Linked DNA regions of Homo sapiens: region 1 is linked to region 2. Evidence: promoter capture Hi-C in 16 types of primary human blood cells and fetal thymus (Javierre and others, 2016). All regions are on one chromosome and are shown on one strand. Each heading gives the region's core, a stretch centred on a gene start or on the middle of the fragment in contact. The rest is flanking DNA. Distances are from core to core; before and after follow the strand shown.

Region 1 (7,123 bases), core at 4,342-6,841, 260 kb before region 2:
ATAAAGGAAGTCCCCTGGTATTGAGCCGCAGGATGGTCTCACTTCTCTATTTAAATCCTCTCCAACCTAGCTTAAAAGCACCTTTTCCATGAGACTGCATTGCAGTCTGTCCCCTTTGAGGGCTTCCGTGGACACACTGTTCCCTTAATTTTGGCACTTCTTACAGACTGCCTGTTATTTTTTAAATCTTTGTCTCTTGTTTCCTCAGTTAGCTACTAGAGGATAAGGACTGTGTCACATCCTATTATTGCCCTACAAATGCCAACTCCATTAGCACATAGTATATGCTCGATAAATATTTGCTGAACTGATGAAAATCTTGTAGGTGGGAAATCTGAAATAATTTCTTACAATAAGTAATAAGAAGGAGATACGGGAGTTCGAAACCAGCCTGACCAGCATGGAGAAATCTTGTCTCTACTAAAATAATACAAAATCAGCTGGGCGCGGTGGCACATGCTTGTAATCCCAGCTACTCAGGAGGCTGAGGCAGGAGAATCACTTGAATCCAGTAGGCGCAGTTTGCAGTGAGCCAAGATCACGACATTGCACTCCAGCCTGAGCAACAGGAGCGAAACTCTGTCTCAAAAAAAAAAAAAAAGAAGGAGATGTTCTGTGCTCTTTAGCTTTCTGATCATATGAAAAAAAAAATTTTATAAACAAAGAGATATGAGCCCTAGCTTCCAATTTGGCTGTATCAAATTCATTATGACCTGTGGCAAGTCACTTGCCTTCTCTAGTGTTCAGTGGCCTCATTTGTGAAACCAGAGCTGATGTGTAAGCTAACTTTCCTTCCTTCCTTCCTTCCTTTTCTTTCCTTTTTTTTTTTTTTTTTTTTTTTTTGAAACAGAGTCTTGCTTTGTCGCCCAGGCTGGAGTGCAATGGTGCGATCTTGGCTCACTGTAACCTCCACTTCCTGGGTTCAAGCAATTCTCCTGCCTGAGACTCCTCAGTAGCTGGGATTACAGGCACGCGCCACCACTCCCGCTAATTTATTTTTTTAATTCTTAGTAGAGATGGGGGTTCACCATGTTGGTCAGGTTGGTCCTGAACTCCTGGCCTCAAGTGATCCACCCACCTCGGCCTCCCAAAGTTCTGGGATTACAGGCGTGAGCCACCATGCCCGGCTAAACTTTCTTTTAGTTGTGGGTTTTGGCTACTCTGTATAGCAAGGAGCGGTCTTGCTTTCCATATCAATACCATTAATGTCCATGGTTCCTTTTTTTCCCCCTGTAAGGACTGCAGATTTATGGGTCACCCCAGTTTATAAAATGAGAATATCAGATACAGAACAAATGTGTGCTTTGGCCAAGCTTCCAGGCATAGAGTGTGTGCATGTGTATGTGTGTGCGGGGTTGCTTACACCTTACTACAGGTCTCTGGCTTCGAATGGACTCTTTCGTCCCAGAGTTGCTCAGCAGGCCTTTCCAAGTACAGGACTGTCAACCATTTGTTGTTTGTGTGCCCAGTCTCTGCTTTGTGAATGACCACAGTGCATGGCATTCCAACTGTTTCCTCTTGTCCCTCTGCACACTCCTAGGGCCAGAATGTCCACTGGCATGTTCAGTAAGATCTGTTCAAGCACTGTCCTGCTTATGTCACTGGAGGAGATATAAGACACCAGTCCTTGCCCTCTGAAGCTTCTAGCCTACATGGGAAGCCAGTACAAGGATGTGTGTATGTGGGGAAAGATGCACTATCATAAGTGAGGGAGAGCCTGGGAGTTATGTGCTGCTTTTTTTTTTTTTTTTTTTTGACAGAGTCTCTCACTCTGTCGCCCAGACTGGAGTGCAGTGGCGTGATCTTGGCTCACTGCAACCTCTGCTTCCTGGCTTCAAACCGTTCTCCTGCCTCAGACTTCCAAGTAGCTGGGATTACAGGCGTGCACCATGATGCCCTGCTATTTTTTTTTTTTTTTTGTATTTTTAGTAGAGACGGGGTTTCGCCGTGATCAACCCACCTCAGCCTCCCTAGGTGCTGGGATTACAGGCATGAGCCATCACACCCGGCTGCTGCTTTGATGTGTCTCCAGTATCTAGAACAGTCCTTGGTATGTGGAAGATGCCCAACAAATATATGAAAATGTGTGAAAATTGCTATGGTTTTCAAACTTGATATTGTAAGGGACAGCTTTTCTTCAAAGAAATCATACCTGGAGGCTCAGTTATGTGAAACAGATGGATACAATACTGCCCTGCTTGAGGGGAGCTAGGGTCAAAGCCTGTCTGCTTGTCTCCTCTGAGCCCCAAAGAGATTCTTGAGAGTCCAGTTGGAAAACTACTAGTTGAAAATGAGGGGCAGCTCAATCCTTGCTCTCTCTTCTTGGTTAACCTTAGCCACAAGGTGATCCTAGCAAAATAAATGGAGGTTTAAAGAACCTTACACTCCAAAGGGAATATTTGCACCTGAAAAAGATGGTGTTAATCTCCCCCTTCCCCTCATTCCAGGGGGGCTCCAATTAGTAAGAGCAGAGGGAAGGAAATTCTGAGTAGGAGACTTCTGAATTGGTTCAACAATGTCTATCAATGTAATGGTAATATTTGTTTAACTTAAACAAACAAAGAAAGAAAACCACTGTGATAATGTTTTTCAGCATTCAATAGAAACCCACTTGGTGTTGTCCTACAGGCAGTCTTGATTACAATGTAAAACTCCCTGTGGAGTCTGGTCAGTGAGTAGCTGGTACTGCCATTTACACCAGAGTACCTCGCATTATCCAGACTGCTATTCACATTCCTGACCAAGTTCACGGTCAACCTCCTGCACTGGCAGCCAAGAGGGCCTGCCTGGAGAGAGCTTCTCTTCTCCATGCCTGCAGGACTGTGACTCTCTACCTGACCTGGCCCTCTCTTAGCCTTCCTACCATAACAGGGCAAGGGAGGGGAATCAACCCAGGGGATATTCCCTTGTCAAGGTCATCCACGGAGCAAAGCACATCCCAGATTTGCATCTAGGAAACAATTTTGGGTAACAGACATATATATATATATTTTAGATATGTCAAAGGGGTAAAGCTCTTGAATTAAGATGGTTTCATCATTATCTATCTCATGAATCTCTACCTTCCCCAACGACTGTCCTTCCTCACAGATGCCTGAAGGGGCAGGCAGATAATTAGTGCTGGGGACCTCATTTGATAGTAGGGGAAACTGAGAGGTGAAAAGAGCTCCCTTCAGTTAGATAGCAACTCACCAGGAACTCCAGTTTCTCCCCTACTGCTTGGTATGGCCACCTCCTCCACCTCTTAGCCAGTCCTCCGACTTCTACATCTTAAAAATCTAGCTCAGGGGCCAGGCGCGGTGGCTCACACCTGTAATTCCAGCACTTTGGGAGGCTGAGGCGGGCGGATCACCTGAGGTCAGGAGTTCGAGACCAGCCTGACCAACATGGAGAAACCCCGTCTCTACTAAAAATACAAAAAAATTAGCCAGCTGTGGTGGCACGTGCCTGTAATCCCAGCTACTTGGGAGGCTGAGGCAGGAGAATCACTTGAACCTGGGAGGCGGAGGTTGTGGTGAGCTGAGATCGTTCCATTGCACTCCAGCCTGGGCAACAATAGCCAAACTCCATCTCAAAAAAAAAAAAAAAATCTAGCTCAGGTCTGACCCCGACTAAATGGACAATCTTCCATTGATTTCCCATCCCCTCAACCCCGGTTCAAGCCACCATCCACAGCATTTGGACTAGTCATTTGTACTTAAGTAACTGAGTTAGTATCATGAAATTTGGTCTTAGGATCAAAGCCACTCAAGGTTAGAGCTGGAGGGAACCTTGGAGATTAAGAGAAACTAAGGTTTGGAGAACCTACCTAAGGTTTCATAGCAAATATGTGACAAATCCAAGGCTTCAAGCCAAGTTTTCCAATGTGTCCCTCGTGCTTTCCTGACTACATCTGGAGTTTCTCTATTTCTTCTTCTCCTTCTCCTTCTTCTTCATTTTTTTTTTTTTTCGTGTGTGTGTCTTTTTTCCCCTATGTGATGCTTCCTTTCTGCCCTGTGACCCTCTCCCTCTGTCCTGTCTTATTAGAAAGAGGCTCTAGAGCTGGCTGCATAGTACCTGTTCTCTGGGACCTTGGTGTTGATCTAAGACTGGTTTAACTACCTAAAGAGAAGCAGAGACCCGAGGGGGCCTGCCATAACCCAACTCTGAAACATGACTTAATCCCAAGTAAGATCAGCTCTAACATTTGTTCAGAAGCAAAAATGATGGATTCTAAAGTTTGACTTCCCCAAGGTCATCTGGCTAAGAGGTGGCTGCAGCAGGGGGCAACAATAGGTCTTCAGGCCCCTGGGGCGGCAACCTGGCACTGCCCAAGAGCCCGCAGGCTCTGAAGGCCAACTGAGCCAGCGGCAAGCCTAGTCCCTGCCTCCCTGCTTGGAGCAGTGCGACTATACCGTTTTCTGTCTGCTCATTTGTGAGCTTGGTTCCCGTCCTAAATGTGGGGGTTCAAGGCAGACAAAGAGTGTGCAGTTGGCCACCCCGCTCGCCTTCAGGAAGTGTGTAGGACACCGTCGAGGCCCCCTAGCCATTGTAAACCAGGCGCTGAGGCTCGTGCCCAGTTGTACCCTTCCCGCGCAGCGCTCAGGAGCGACAAACCTGGAGGCTATTCGGTCTGCCACTGGGCTGTGCCGGGATTCGCGGACTTTCTCCTGAATAGCGCTCTCAGCTCGCGTCTTCCCCCTGCCACTCTCCCACGCCCCCAGAGTACCCACCGACCCCAGCAGGCCGGGTACATCCCTGCCGCGCCCATCCGGCCAGTGGCTCCAGGGGCCGGCCTGGTGTGTCTCCAGCTGGGCGCCTACCGCCTGCCCCAGCGCTAGTTCTGGCGTTGGGGGTAGAGAGGTAAAGAGGGGAGTTAGCGGGGCATCTCCCTCCCAGGGCTGAGCCGGCAAGCGCATCTTCTCCGCGAGTTCCTCACTGTCCAGCGAGCGCTGCCCAACTTCTGCGCCGGTGGGACCCGCTGCTCTGAGTCACTCTTGGCACAGAACACCAAGCACCCTCAGAAACCGAATTCACCACCTTTGGGAGGCTCCTGGGAGAAGGCAAGGAACCCAGGCGGGGCTCCCAGGGCTCTCGGGCTGGGACTGGGTTGTGTGTGTGTGGGGGGGCTTCACGGATACCCCTCCCAACCTGCTTCCTTTCCCTGACAGCAGCCATCTCCCCCAAGAGGGAGAGTCTTAGGCGTCCCGGAAGACCCTGCGGACTGTGCACCTCGAGGTACCAGCCTCTCCTGGGAGGAGTGGGGGGCCGCTGGTCAGCGGCTGGCAGAGGGGACCTGTTTGCTGGCCCGTTTGGAGGTGGGATGGAGTGGGGTTTGGAGACTGAGAAGCCCAAGAGAAGACACTGAGTTTCTCCCCACCCCACAACCCCACTTCCGAAAAAGAACCAGGTGGTGAGGAGGAATAAGGCGAAGTGTAAACACAAACAACCTCAAAAAGAAGCCAAGAAAAGCGAAGCCCAAAGAAGCAAGAGCAACACTGTTACAAAACTGTCTGGTTTTGTAACAATTTCCCCGCCGCCGGCCAATGAACAGCGTGGCGGCACGTCACGTGGTACCGTTTTATATAACACTTTGCTGAGACAAGACAGTTATTAGGCGGCGCGGGGCGGCCGGCATGGAGCTCCCGGAGGCGCGGCAGGGTCAGGAGCTCGGTGGCATGGCGGCGGTGGCTGCCCCGATTTCCTCCAGCTGCCACTCCTTGCTTCGTGTCCCCGGTCCCTAGACGCCTCGTCTCCTCCCGTGTCCCTCTTCCCATGGAGTCAGTACGGATCGAACAGATGCTGAGCTTGCCCGCTGAGGTCAGCAGCGACAACTTGGAGTCGGCGGAGCGAGGGGCATCAGCGGCCCAAGTAGACATGGGCCCCCACCCAAAGGTGGCTGCAGAGGGCCCCGCACCTCTACCGACGCGGGAGCCAGAGCAAGAGCAGTCTCCGGGGACCTCAACGCCGGAGAGCAAAGTCCTGCTCACGCAGGCAGACGCCTTGGCGTCCCGGGGGCGAATCCGTGAAGCCCTCGAGGTGTATAGACAGCTCTCCGAGCGGCAGCAGCTGGTGGCTGAGCAGCTGGAGCAGCTGGTGCGCTGCCTGGCGGAGAAAGTCCCGCAAGGCGAGGCGCTGGCGCCGGCGCCCCCGGACGAGGGTAGCACTGCAAGCGGCACCGTGGCGGCGGAAGAGACGGGGGCCGCCGCGGCTGCGGCGGCCACCGAGGTGTGGGACGGCTTTAAGTGCCGGAAATGTCATGGGTTTCTATCAGACCCCGTGTCCTTGTCGTGTGGCCACACCTTTTGTAAACTGTGCCTGGAACGTGGGCGGGCCGCCGACCGGCGCTGTGCGCTGTGCGGGGTCAAGCTCTCCGCCTTGATGGTGGCCACTGGGCGGGCGCGTGGAGCCCGGCGGGCTGGGCAGCAGCCGCCGCCGCCGCTGCGAGTCAACGTGGTGCTCAGCGGCCTCCTCGGCAAGTTGTTTCCAGGCCCAGCGCGAGCGTCGCAACTCCGGCACGAGGGCAACCGACTGTACCGCGAGCGCCAGGTGGAGGCGGCACTGCTCAAGTACAACGAGGCAGTTAAGTTGGGTGAGTCCAACGCGCTGCCGGGCCGGGGCTGGGGCTCGGTGGCTACATGAGGGAGCGGGAGAACAAACCCCGCAGCGAGAAGGGATTTGGACCAGGGCAGAAGAGGGGGCGGGGGACCCATGGACTGTGGCGGGGTGGGGGAGGGGTGATTCTGGGGCTGGGTCTCTGAGTTTGTTCTGTTTTCACTGCTTATCTGTGTTTCACTGTGTTTGTGTTGATCTCGGTTGCTTTTTGTCTTTTCCTGCTACTTCTGTTAGCTTTTGTGTTCCTGTCTCTCAGTCCCCGTTCCTGTCTGTGTCTCCTTGCTTCTGGTTCTTTTTCTCCGTCTCTTCGTATCTTTGTCACTGTTTCTTTCTTTTTCGGTGTCACTGTCTCTGTTCCTCTGACTCTCCTTCTCCCGCTGCACTCCTGGTCTCCTCTTACACCTGCTCGCACCTTCCCAGCGAGGAGAGGAACTTCGCGCGCTCCTCGCACTTGCGCCCGGTCCTCTGGGCTGTAGCCAGCAGGAGATGTCCGGTCGGCGCCTGCGTCCGCCGCTCGCGCCGCCGGGTG
Region 2 (7,060 bases), core at 1,211-3,710:
TTTTGGTAAAAGAATTTACCAAAACAGTTTTAGTTAAAAGAAGGTAGATTTATTAGATAAAGTAGGAAAATATGTTGTCAGAGAGACAAAGGGCAGCCTGCAAGAGAGAAGCCAACTGCCAGGAGACAAAGGCTTGCTGGAAATTTTATAGGATGGCGTTTATGCTGTCTGTTGAAGAGGTCTTTGTGTAATATTGATAATGCCAAGGTCGCAATGAGCTAACTTACAGGTGTCTGGTGATAGCTGGGCATGGGAAGATTGTGAATTATTTGCGCAGGAAGGCTGCATCTTGGTCATGAAGAAAGGGAGATTTGTAGCTTATTTGCTTTTTCTTTTTGCTATTTCATGCTCCCACCAGCCTGATTCCCTTTCCCTAATTAGGACTCCAGAATGATGATATTTGAATGGCCTTTTAATGGTTTTGTCACAATTCAAGTGAATTAATTCGCCATTTTATTTGAAGTCGGACATTTAGGTTGTTTCCAGTTTTTCTGTATTAAAAATGAATCTCTGCTGAGCATCTTAGTAATGAAATATTTGTCTGCGTTTCTGTCTCCTTGGGATGGATTCCTGAAAATGGAATTACTAGGTCAAAGAGCAGATTTCTAGAAGTGGGATTAATGGATAGAAAATATTTTTATGGATAATAAAAGGTTATACCCAACAGCGTATGTGAGTCTCACCACTCTCTCGCCAATAGTGTGTTATCCTTTTTTTTTTCCCTTTTATCTTTCCTGTAGAAAAGTAGTAGGTGACAGCGGCATCTCCATGCTTTTCTTTTTGTTACTAATGAGACTGAACATTTTTCATATGCTTATTCACCACTGGCATGCTCTCTTTTGTGAACTACCTGTTCCTATTTTTTCCCATTTATTGACTAGAATCTTATACATTTTCTTATCAATCCAAATGATCTCTCAAATAAATATTAACCCTTTGTCATATTAGTTGCAAATGAAAATATTTTATAAGTTTATTAGCTTTCTAAATTTTCTTGGCCATACATGTTAAAAGAGATAGATTCTAACTATAGACAAGTGCCCTCAGTTTGAGCCTGTTTCTCCATGATTAAATTGAAGAGTTTTGACAAAAGATTTGGAGGGGCTGTTTCAGCTAATCCCAAATTTAGCTCTGAGAAAAATGCCTGGGCCCGATACAAAGATTGTTTGGCTCATTGCACTTTATAATGATTTAAGAAGATGTGGGGGGCAGGGATGGAAGCAGTTTTTGCCAGAAATTTTTAGAATTCTGAGGTAGGAAGCCAATCTTTACTCAAGTCTCTTGCGTGTTGGGAGGAGGAGTAAGTTATGTGCAAGCCAACAGAACACTTGGTGGAAAAGTACTGCTCTGGGCTGCAGATGTGTGCACGGCTTGGTTTTAATTATTTGTTTCCCTCTCTATCCTTTCTTCTCCTCCCCTCCCCCCGCCACCAGAAAAAGGGCCAGATTAGGACGAGGCAACCCCTTCCTCCGTGGAGGTCTGCTTCTGTGCAGCCTGTTAGCACATCAAAGGCCGGATGAAATACCTAGGAAAGGAAGGGACCAGGCCTAGGATCCTTCCAAACTCCCGCCTTTGTCTGGGCTCCAGCTCAGGGTTATTGTGACTGCCAAGGGTAGCCTGACAGACTCCAAATAGAAGAACGCTGCCAAACAAAGAAACTTTCACATTATTCTGAGGGGGGAAAAAAGAGCAACAAGAGAACGTTGCTTGTTAATGCCTGGTGACTGAGCAAATCAGTAATTGCAAAAGGGTTTTTCGGAGAACAAACCCAAAGTTAACTGGGCGATCAGATTCGTTTCCCCAGATAATAGGGAGAGTTGTGCACTGACTTTAGCAATCCCGGGGGTGTCGGTCCCACAGCATCTGGGGGAGAATTGGGGAAGGGCCATCAAGGAGAGCGAATGGGGGTTCCCAAGGTGAAAATGAGTCGTGTAGGGCTCTAACATAGAAAATGGAGTTCGAAGAATGAGTTTCCTGTCTCCTAAGACAGCTTGGAGGGCCCGGGAACGGCAGGGGGAAGATGAGGGGCTTCAGAATGGGAGGCAGGGAAAAGCCTGCAGCAACAGAAAGGGAGTCGGTGTCTGGCGCGCATCAGGTGGCGGAGGGGCGCTCGCACAGAGCCCGGCAATGCCGAGGCCCTCCCAACGGGTCGGTCTGCGAGGAGCAAAAAAGGGGTTCAGAGGAGGGCAGCGCGTGCGTCGCGCTCAGCTATAGGATGGCGCGAGGATGGCGTGAGGCTGGGCTGGGGCCTCCCAGGTAGAACTGAGGGGGGCACCGCGCGGCCGCGGGGGAGCGGCGCCGGACTCTAGAGGCTTTGGAGGGGGCCTGAGGGCTGCGGGGCGGGACCGAGCAGGGCGGGGCGCTTAGGTGGCCTCGGGGGAGGCGGGGCTTGGAGGCTCCGCCCCTCAGGCCCCGCCTCCTCCCCGGCTAGTCTTTGGCCGCCGCCGAACCCCGCGCGCCACTCGCTCGCTCAGAGGGAGGAGAAAGTGGCGAGTTCCGGATCCCTGCCTAGCGCGGCCCAACCTTTACTCCAGAGATCATGGCTGCCGAGGATGTGGTGGCGACTGGCGCCGACCCAAGCGATCTGGAGAGCGGCGGGCTGCTGCATGAGATTTTCACGTCGCCGCTCAACCTGCTGCTGCTTGGCCTCTGCATCTTCCTGCTCTACAAGATCGTGCGCGGGGACCAGCCGGCGGCCAGCGGCGACAGCGACGACGACGAGCCGCCCCCTCTGCCCCGCCTCAAGCGGCGCGACTTCACCCCCGCCGAGCTGCGGCGCTTCGACGGCGTCCAGGACCCGCGCATACTCATGGCCATCAACGGCAAGGTGTTCGATGTGACCAAAGGCCGCAAATTCTACGGGCCCGGTACGCGGCCGGCGAGGGGGGCTTGGAGACAAAAGAAGGGGGCCCCGGCACGGGGCTGGGCGGGAGAGAGGCGAGGCGGGAGCGGGGCGCCCCTGAGTGGAGGGAGGAATGGCGGCGAGCTAGGGTAGGCGGGTAGGCGGGCAGGCGGAGAGCCGGGAGGCTCCCGGGGCGGGCAGGGAACAAGAGGCGCTCTAGAGGGGCTGCGGGCCAGTCAGGGACGCGGATCCCCGGCCCGCGCTGACAGCGCTGGGAGGGGGTTAGAGAAAGAAGGCTGAGGCGCTTAAGCCGGGGGTGGGTGGGACCACGAAGCTCGAAGGCGTTGAGGGGGGACACATCAAAGCCCAGGCTGTTGGGGTAGTTTTCGAAGGTCCTGGGCTTGGGGATTCCTGGAAGGAGGAGGGGGTAGTGTCGGGTTCTAGGAAGGAAATGAGGGTGTTCCGAGGGAGGCATGGGGGAGGGCGAGAGTGAGAAAAGGTCCAGACCTAGAGAAGACGGGAAGGCCAATGACACCGGGAGTAGGTTTGAAATATGAGGGTGTGGGAGAAAACGCCGAGACGGGATTAGCAGCAGGTAAAAGCTTTGTGCCCGGTGGATAGTGATGTGTGTGTGCACTCGTGGTGTGTGCATGCGCGGTGTGTGCGTGTTTAGTGTATGTGATTTATCAGGGGTGTGTGTGTGTGGTGTGTGCATGCGCGCTTGAAATGGGTCATGCGTCAGGTATGTGTGTGGCATGTGTTTGGTCTGTGTGCGCTTGTGCTGTGTGTGGCAGATGGGGAAAGGCTGGAAGGTGAACAAGGAGGAAGGGGGCTGTTTGAGGGAGGAATAAAGGCTGAATATGGTGGACAATGGTAACGTGGCAAGCTTTTAAGGTAATATGGTATTTAGTCTATAGCAGGAGAGAAAGGATTAGAAGCCAAGAAAAATTAAAATGGAGGGAGGGAGAAGTGGGAGGATACCAAGAAACAAAAGGAGTAGAGCTAAGAAGACTGCTGGGTGGGGGGATATCAGGAAAAGCCAACCAGAGGGAAATGAAGAATGGATGACTGCTGCACTGCTGAGCTGTTGGAGAAGGCAGGCCTGATGGGTTCCTTAGAGGCGAGGTTTTTGCAAACCTGGTTGCGTATCAGAATCACCTGATGCATCTGAGGAAAAATACAGATTCCCAGTCTAACCGCCAGAGCTGCAAATGAGTCTCGGGTGGTCCGGGAGTCTGTATTTTAATATGCTTCCCAGGCGAATTTGAAAAGCAGCCAGGCTTGCAAAGTCCTGCTTTATAGAATACTTGGAGATGAGGAAGAAGAGGTTTTGGCTCCTCCAATATGGACTCCTCTAAACACAGGGAGCTTAGAGGATGTCCACATGGACGGTGCTCATTCCACACTGGCCTGAGAGAGGGAAGAGTACAGAAGGCAGTACACAAACTCAGGCATTCATTTTAGTCTCCCAGTCCAACTGATCAAAATCAGATGTGTTAAGGTTAAGGAGCTCAGTTTTTTCTTGCAGACATTTATTTATTATAAAAAATAAATTTTATTTATTTTTTAGAGACAGGGTCTCCCTCCTGTGTTGCCCAGGCTGGTCTCGAACTCCTGGGCGCAAGCAGTCCTTCCACCTCCATTTCCCAAAGTGCTGGGATTACAGGCATGAGCCACTGCACCGGGCCTGTGGATATTTTAGAATACCTGCTTTCTATAGGCATGTAACTGTCAAAATCATTTGAAAACCACATACATTATTTGTCACTTAGAGTAGCACACATAGTTGCTTTATCAATAAACATAATCATGTAAATACCTGTTAATATTGAGCTCAATATTAAAGGAGTGAAAACATGTGCATGAGGCATCATCATGACTGTAGTTTGCAGAGTCATTGAGAGGATGTCAGCCTGTGCACAGAGCACAAAACTGGGAGTCAGGCAACCTGCGTTCTAGTCCTGATTGGGTCATGACTAGCTGTGTGACCTTGTGCAAAGCATTGTTCTCTCAGAGCCTTAGTTTTCCCTCTGAAAAGTGATAAAGATGGCCTATTGTGAGATCTCTGTCTCTATCTTGCACTGTCATTCAGTGAGCCCATGACTACGTGACATCTTGGTAGAAAGTGATGCTTCATGTTGTAAAGGATTCCTAAAAATTAGTCATTCTAGTGCCTGTTAATTCTGTGCAAGGCACTGTTGTAGATGTGGGAATATAGCAGTGAGCAAAACAGACACAAATCTCTGCCTATGGAGCTTACGTTCTAGTGAATATATGTTGCACTGAATAATATGTATTTTTAAAAGACTTTTAATGTTCCCACTAGAGAACATTTAATTGTTTAAATGTTTAAATATTCTATGAGGTTTAAATATTCTATGTTTAAATATTCTATGAGGTTTGCTTGGTAAAGACTCACTCTACCAAGCCAATGACCATAATTTCTGAAATGGTAAGGTTCAAACCATTGCATTTGCCTATTCTCAAGCACTAGGTGCTGCCATTTCCACTAGGGGTGTACATTTATGAAAAATGTGGGCTTTTTTTTACCTTCTTTAGTGAATGTGGCAGCATGTAATGATGATTAAAAATAAGCATTTTTCTTTGGAATTTTACTTGCATTTAAAAGTTGTAAAATTTGTAAAAAATTTCTGAGTGTATTGAGGTTTCAGGTGAACAGGCCATATTGAAACTTGATCTATTCTCATACTTGGTTCCCTACAAACATTTTAATGTCAGGGCTGCTATTCAATCTGCCTTGGGGGAAACAACACATTGTTTAAAGTACACTGGATTCTCTTCATTTAGTTGTGCAATATTTAAATAAGTCTAAATATCCACTTTGTGTACCCACAGAATGATTCTCTGCTCTCTTAGACAAAAGTTCAGTATAATATCACAAATAATCACATTTTATAGAGTTGTTTTATAGAGTTGTTTTGCAGTATTGATTCAGCCTCTTTTCCATGAAAATTTTAGTATTTTCACAGTCTTCTCAAGCCCACCAAAAAACAGATAATGAAGACTGATCTCTGTGTTATCTATTTATTGACAGTGAAGGTTATGTAATGTGGATAGATTTTTAAACCACCGATACTGTTATAAAATGGTTCTTCTGCAGATGCCATGAGTTAATGTTTAATTGAGCCTTGGAACCAAAGATCTCTATAAGATACCTTTGTTTCATTAAAACATATCAGAATATATTCATAAGGAAATGTGTTTTCATGTACACATCAGTGCTTATTATCTTAAGAAACCATAACTCTCACTGGTGTAGCCCCAAGTGCCTAGAACTGTCAGGCTCCCAGTTCAATGTTCTTGTATGATTCCCTACTACCACTACCCCAAGAGATCACTAACCACGTATGACTTTTTTACTAGCTATTTGGAAACCACAGGAGACTGACGCAAATGTATAGCAGTTTGATTTACTTTTAGTTATTTAAAAGTTAAATGACAACAGGTCTTTCTGTGTCTCCTACATAATGTTCAGAATATCAGCATTACTATGGTTTCCTAATGGAATTTGATATTCAAAAATGGGGCTATGTTGATGAATAGGGAAGCCATTTTCTGTGTATAAATCACAGAGAAATTGACTGTCTAATAAAGAATTGATCTTTGGTTTTGTTTTTGAAGAGGGGCCGTATGGGGTCTTTGCTGGAAGAGATGCATCCAGGGGCCTTGCCACATTTTGCCTGGATAAGGAAGCACTGAAGGATGAGTACGATGACCTTTCTGACCTCACTGCTGCCCAGCAGGAGACTCTGAGTGACTGGGAGTCTCAGTTCACTTGTAAGCATTTTTAAAATTGTGTCTGGGTCAAATTTCTACCAGTAATGGGGATTCGTGGCAGGACAATAGTTATTACTAAGCAGCCTGAAACTTGGGTGCATTTTGATAGGCTCCTTAATCTTGGACGCATCAAGTTCATGGCTTGAAGTAATTGTAGCAGTGCTGAGTCACTTGCTATGATTGCATACCAATTTTTAGCCAGTTCTCTATGGAAACTTGGGTTTCTGGTTTTGATTTTAAAATTTTTGAGAGATTTGCTAGATTCCAAATGAGGATTTGGTGCTTGGTGTGTCAGGGAAAGGACAGTGTCCATCTTGGCTACAGAAAGGGATTTTCATAAGCCCTCTCTTGTAGAGCTTGCCGTTTAAAAGCAGCCCACATCTCTGTTGAAGAATGGGAGACTTGTATTCTGTGAAACAG

The links. Contacts are between HindIII fragments. The CHiCAGO score rates a contact against its expected background, and 5 or more counts as called.
Region 1: a contact is called between the fragment with the promoter of LONRF3 here and the fragment with the promoter of PGRMC1 in region 2, in 11 of 17 cell types (monocytes, activated CD4 T cells, non-activated CD4 T cells and 8 more). The highest score is 13.5, in monocytes.

Annotation. Positions count from the first base shown.
Region 1 is chrX:118,969,027-118,976,149 of GRCh38, forward strand. LONRF3 (LON peptidase N-terminal domain and ring finger 3) reads left to right here and starts at 5,592. Exons shown (of 11, transcript NM_001031855.3): 1 at 5,592-6,571. The coding sequence starts at 5,755. The HindIII fragment of the contact is 6,269 bases long and covers 1,639-7,123 here.
Region 2 is chrX:119,233,825-119,240,884 of GRCh38, forward strand. PGRMC1 (progesterone receptor membrane component 1) reads left to right here and starts at 2,461. Exons shown (of 3, transcript NM_006667.5): 1 at 2,461-2,867; 2 at 6,485-6,640. The coding sequence starts at 2,540. It also overlaps the pseudogene NUDT19P6. RefSeq lists silencers at 2,184-2,233, 2,264-2,523, 2,924-3,073. The HindIII fragment of the contact is 8,490 bases long and covers 1-3,442 here.